Regions from separate parts of the Homo sapiens genome. Here region 1 is linked to region 2. Evidence: promoter capture Hi-C in human tissues and cell types (Jung and others, 2019). All regions are on one chromosome and are shown on one strand. The core of a region is centred on a gene start or on the middle of the fragment in contact, and the rest is flanking DNA. Distances in the headings are between cores, read along the strand shown.

Region 1 (2,700 bases), core at 162-2,661, 41 kb after region 2:
TCCAGCAGACGGGTCTGTGGATTTCTAGGAGGCTAGAGATTCAGGGCTCCCTAACTCTGAAGGGCTATGAAACCAGGCTTGCCTGCAGAAGGAAAAACACTTTGGCTAAAGGCCTTCATCCGTCTCTGAAGCATCCACCCCATAAACTGAGCAAGGGACTTGGAGGGAGTGCAGGACAGATGGGAAGAGGGGAGCCCAGAACTCCAAATGAGATTGTCCAGTGTGTCAGTCTTCCAGGCACACACACCCTGGAAGCAATGCCCAGGTCTGCCTGACTTCCTTCTGGACACAGCCCCAGAGCCATCCTGATGGATGGAACACTGCTTCTCAGCCCAGCCTCCTGTGCTTAAAGGCACCTAGAATTGGCTGCTTTCTTTGATTTCCCCAAGACACGAGTTGCTTATTTCTTCACATCCTCACTGCTAGGTGTTTGCACTTAGCACATATTTACTGGGTGACCCAGGGTCCCAGGAGAGTGTTCCCATATACTACCACTTGACCCCCATCATACCCCATGAGCCAGGACAGACGGGCCCAGCTTACAAATGAGAAAACGGAGGCCTAGGCAGGGGTGGCTTGCTGGAGGTCATGCAGCTGATAAGTGGCAAAATGAGATCGGCACCCAGGAGCCCAGGCTTCCCTCCTGCTCCTGTGTGGCCTGTTCTCAGGTCTTGGGGTGGTGGCAGAAATGCCCCCTGCTTGGCCAGTGGCATGCCCAGCAATGGAAGGTGTCTTAGGACTGCAGGGAGAGATGGCTGATTGATATGGGACTGATAAGGCACATGTCCTCTGGAGCATAGTTTTCAAACGTGGTTTTAGTATCGGAACCCATTCTTCAAGTGGTGTCTTCTGCTGAAGCCCAGTATGTAAAATAGATCAGATGGAGCCGCTGAGTTGAGTGGGGAAGGGGCTGGGTACACCACTCACTCTTCTTGCTGGGCAGCCCCCGAGTCTCCTCTGAGGCCTCTACTTCTCTATGAATCTCATTTGGAAACAACCAGCCATTGGAAGTTACCATTCCAATTTGTAGAGTGTAGCAGAGTGTCTCTGCTCCCGTTTTCCTGCCTCACCCACCTTGTCTGTGTCTTCCAGGGTGACATGGGCTTGCCTGGGCTCTCCGGGAATCCAGGACCTCCGGGACGAAAGGTACTGTTTGGTTTTGATGCTTTGCCTTGCGCAGTGGGCCTCCTAGCAAGCCAGGTCTTCAGGCAGAAGAGCTGTGGGCCCACCTGCCTCTCCCCAGCCCCAGCCCAGCTCCCCTGGGCACAGGGTACATGGGTGAGAGGTGAGAGAGCTTTCCAAGGGTTGTGCCTGTTGAGGGCAGGGAATACCTCGGCTCGTAGTAGGTGCCTCCCACCACGGTTAATGAGGTAGCATAGGAAGTATCCTTGGTTTGCTGTCCTTCCTTTTGGGGGCCCAGCCGCTCCCAGGGAGGCCACCTTCAAGAAAGCCTGTGGTGATGGAGTAACCTGTGCTGGCCCTGGCTCCACCACCCACTGTCTGAGAGGCCGTGGGCCTGCGAGTCCTGTCTCTGCCCCTCAGCCTCCTCCTACATGAGATGGAGACAATGATCCCCGTCTCTGACCCTGCACAGTCTGGGGCTGTGTGACCAGGAGCAAGGCCTGGAGCGGAGAAGTTGAGGGAGTGGACCCTGGGGTCAGTTGGACCTGGGTCCTACTCCTGCTTCTGCCATTTCCTGGCTGGGTGACCTTGGGCAAGTCAGTGAGCTCTCAGAGTCTAATATGCGGCCCTCGCTGATGCTCTGCAGGGGAAGGGGAAGGGGAATGATCTGGAGAGGCAGTGGGTTCTCTCTATCTTGCTGGCTGTTGTTATGTCACGCCCATCCCATCCCCATTTCAGCCATGCTGGGGGAGTTACCTGTCCAAACGCCTGTGTGAGGAAAAGACTGGCATTTCCTGGGTAGTGGGTCTGTAACTTACAGTCCCCCTGGATTTCTGTGACTCCTCCAGCCTGTGTCTCCCTTCCTTCAAGACTCTACTCTAGTTGTGCCTACTCCAGGAAGTCCTCCTGGAGCACCCAGCTTCAGGCCATGAGGCTCCTCTCTGCTCAAGAACACTTAAGCTGTCTTGGCTTAGTTATTTTGAGCCACCAGGCATGCCTCACCAACCAGGGTGTGCAAATCTGGTTTATTGCTCTTCCTACTGAGCCTAGCATGAAGCCTGTGCATAGCAGGTGTTCAGGAAATGGGGGGAAGGCAATGCAGACTAAGGATCGATTGCTTTTTCCAAGAAAATCCCCAACCGCTGATGGATTGTCTGGTGAATCCATCGGCCTACCACTGTGTCTTAAGCTTCTGCCCTGGCTCCCAGCTGTGGCCACAGCTGAACTCTCTCTAGGCCATCTGGCTCTCATCTGGACAGCTGGGGTGTCTCCCAGCTCCATCCTGTTCTTGCCTTGAGAGCCCCATGACACAGGGGGCCTTGCAGGACCTCGTTCCCCCATTCCCTTCTCCATGGCCAGAGCAGGCCATACCTTCAACCTGAGAGGCCCACCCCAGAAGCAGTGGCTGTTTGTGAGCTGGGAAACATGGTCCTTTCTGGCTCACAGAACACAGAGGGACTTGCGCTCCCCACTTACTTCCTCTCTGGGCTCTAGCGCTTTCTGATGGATGAGGTGTGAGTGGAAAAGGCTCCTTCCGGTCCCAGCTCATAAAGCAGCCTCGGGTGGTCTTGTTCTGCA
Region 2 (2,700 bases), core at 11-2,510:
GCCCCCGCGCCCACGGCTGCGGGGACCCATGAATACAAATGCCGTTAGGCGCCGGAGGAAGGACCGACCGGCCAGCCTCGCACGTAGGGACCCAGTAAGTGCTTGGGGGCTCCTGGAGCGGTGCGAAGTGTTATATGCCTGTGTGTGCGCGCGCCTAAAGGTGTGCGCGTATGGGGAGGTGGGTACACGCGTGAGGAGTGAATGCGTGTGTGCACATGTGCGGTGGGCACTCTCGGAGAACTGTGTGCAAGTGAGGGTGTGCGCGCGTGTGTCCACCCGGGGTGTGTACATGTGTGGGGGCGATATGGCCAGGATAGCGTGCATTTGTGCCTGTGTAAGCATCCGTGTGCATGCTTCTGCGAGTGTAGAGTATCAGCGTGCGCCTGAGCCCAGATATCTGAGGATGCGTTTCGTGTGAACCTAGGAAGGGTGCGTGGCTGTCCCAGAATGGGACCGTGTGTGAGCGTGTGTCTGAGTTTGGGGAAAGGGTGGATACGTGTGGGAGTGTGTGTGTGCACCGGTGAATAAGTGTAACTTTGCTCGTGAACGAGTGGCAAGAGGTGGTAGAGGCGGAGGGAGCTGTGGTCCCAGGGCTGGACTGGAGTTTTGGGTGTGAGAATTTGCCCGGGGGCCAAGGTGTGCAGCTCTTAGCTCCCGGATGGGATCCGAGGGAGTTTTTGTCGATTCTGGGGAGGTGCGTGGTTAGTGGTGGTGGTGGGGTGCGGTTAGATTCCAATTGCTGACAGAAGGGAGAGAGAGGGTGGCAAACCCTTAACAAGCCCACCCTATATGTTCTCCAGGGCGCTCCGAGTCTGGGAGCGCAAACTTTTGGTGGGCGGTGGGGATCACGATACTGGTTGTCGTGGGCGTCTGGACACCAAGTTCTGGTCCTAGCTCCGTCCCTGAAACTGTGGGTTTCTTCCAGGAGTAGAATTTGGCCCTTCTCCCCTACCCCAACCCCCCATTGGAGGACCCCCAGCCTCACCAGTCAGAAGTTCCTAATCTCAGAACGGTGATCAAATCACCGTGAAGCCCTGGGCAGCCCCTTCCTCTCTGTGAATCTGTTTCCCCATCTATACAAGGAGGAGGGGGGCGGGTGTCCCATCGGGGCTGTAGTGGGCCAGCTGAGGCTGTACCCTTGGCTCCGGCCGGCAGGGGGCAGCAGGGGGCAGCAGAGGGCGGCCGGGAGCGGGGAGGAGGGAAGGTGGAGAGCCACCGCGGGCCGAGACTTTAAATCGCCTTCATTTCCCCCAAATCCTTCCTTTTCCTCTCCTCCCCCAGGCCGGCGGGGAGGCAGCTTCCACCGCCCTCCGCGCGCCCTCACCCGGCCTTGCTCTGCCTCCGGGGACCGCCAGCAGCCCGCCTCCAAAAGTTTGATCATCTCTCTCTCTCTTTTTCTTGCTTCTTCTTCCTTTTTGGTGGAAGCAGAAAAGGACCGAGGCAGGGGCGAGCGCGGCGCCCGGACTCCTGGGACCATGGGCCTGGCGCGGGCGCCCGCGGGGCCCCAGCCGCGCTGCCTGCCTGCTCGGGCGCCCCTGGGCGCGGGGCTGCGCTGGGGGCGCGGGGGCCGCGCGCTCTAAGCCGGCCTGGCGCGGCGGGGCGGGGGGCTGGCGGCCCCATGGGGCGCGCCCACACTTGCCCCCCGGGCTCGGGAGCATGAAGTAGGGGCCTGCCATGGGAGCGGGATCGGCGCGGGGGGCCCGAGGCACAGCGGCGGCGGCGGCGGCGCGCGGGGGGTGAGTACGAACTCGGGGACGCCCCCTCCCTAGCTTCCTGCTGCTCCAATCTCGGGGAGGGCCGGGGTTCCCCGCCATGCGGTCGCTTCCAGCGGAACGTCAGCTTCCTGCCCCTTCCTGCGCCCCCGCGAGGCGGGACGCCAAGGGTTAATAGGGGCTGCGCCCCCGGCCGGGCGAGAGTTGGCGAACGCTGCCCGCCCTGCCGCGCCTGGCCCGGCTGCCCGATCCCGTTGGGGCGGGGGCAGAGCCAGCCCGGGGGTCGGGGGTGGGGGTGGGTGGTGGCGCCTGGAGCGGCCGGCGGGGTGCGGAGGGGGGCTTTTTGGATGCTTGGGGGAGGAGGGGGGTCTCCGTTTGGGGCCGTCTCGGTGTGTTCCGGTGTCTCAGTGTCTGCAGGTCCCAAGCCTGTACGTCTCCGTTTCTATCTGTTCTTGTGAAATTGTCCGCAAGTTTCTAGGTCACCAGGTCTCGGGTTCTGCTCCTGTCTCCGTGTCTGTGTGGCTCTGCACGTCCCCGCGTTTCTGGAAATCTCCGCGTGTTTGTGTTAGTCGGCCTGGGTCTGTGTGTCTGTGTTTCCTGCTTCTCGGTTCCTGTCCCTTTCACGTGTGTAAGAGAGAAAAAGTGAGAGCCAGCATGTCAGAGCAGAAAGGGCCCTGGGCGATCACTGTGCGGAACCCCTCAGTGTACAGATCGGGAGACAGGGCCGGAGAGGGGCAGGGACTCTCCCAGGAGCGGCTGCGCGGAGCTGGGGCCCAGAGGCTGGGATTCCCAGCGTGTGGAGTAGGAGTTGTAAGAGAGAGTGAGCCTGTGCTGGAGCCGGCGCAGCGTGTGGGTGTGTGTGGGAGCCAGCAGCATGCAAGCAGCCCGTTGGGGCCTGTGGACGGCGCTCCTCTCTTTCCATCCTGCCCCCAGGACACCAGGACACTCCCCAGAGGCTGTTAGGGCTGTAGCTGGGCCCTGCCCCCTT

What was found. Contacts are between HindIII fragments. The study calls those that stand out against the background at their distance.
Region 1: a fragment that was not itself captured here is called in contact with the fragment with the promoter of COL27A1 in region 2 in 7 of the 25 tissues and cell types used here (bladder, lymphoblastoid cells, mesenchymal stem cells and 4 more).

The regions. Positions count from the first base shown.
Region 1 is chr9:114,194,867-114,197,566 of GRCh38, forward strand. COL27A1 (collagen type XXVII alpha 1 chain) reads left to right here. Exons shown (of 61, transcript NM_032888.4): 7 at 1,093-1,146. Among named protein-coding and RNA genes, the nearest start is that of MIR455, 13 kb to the right of the region's middle. The HindIII fragment of the contact is 5,487 bases long and covers 1-2,700 here.
Region 2 is chr9:114,154,277-114,156,976 of GRCh38, forward strand. It overlaps COL27A1 (collagen type XXVII alpha 1 chain), which reads left to right and starts at 1,261. Exons shown (of 61, transcript NM_032888.4): 1 at 1,261-1,736. The coding sequence starts at 1,675. RefSeq lists silencers at 1,126-1,245, 2,133-2,427. The HindIII fragment of the contact is 14,734 bases long and covers 1-2,700 here.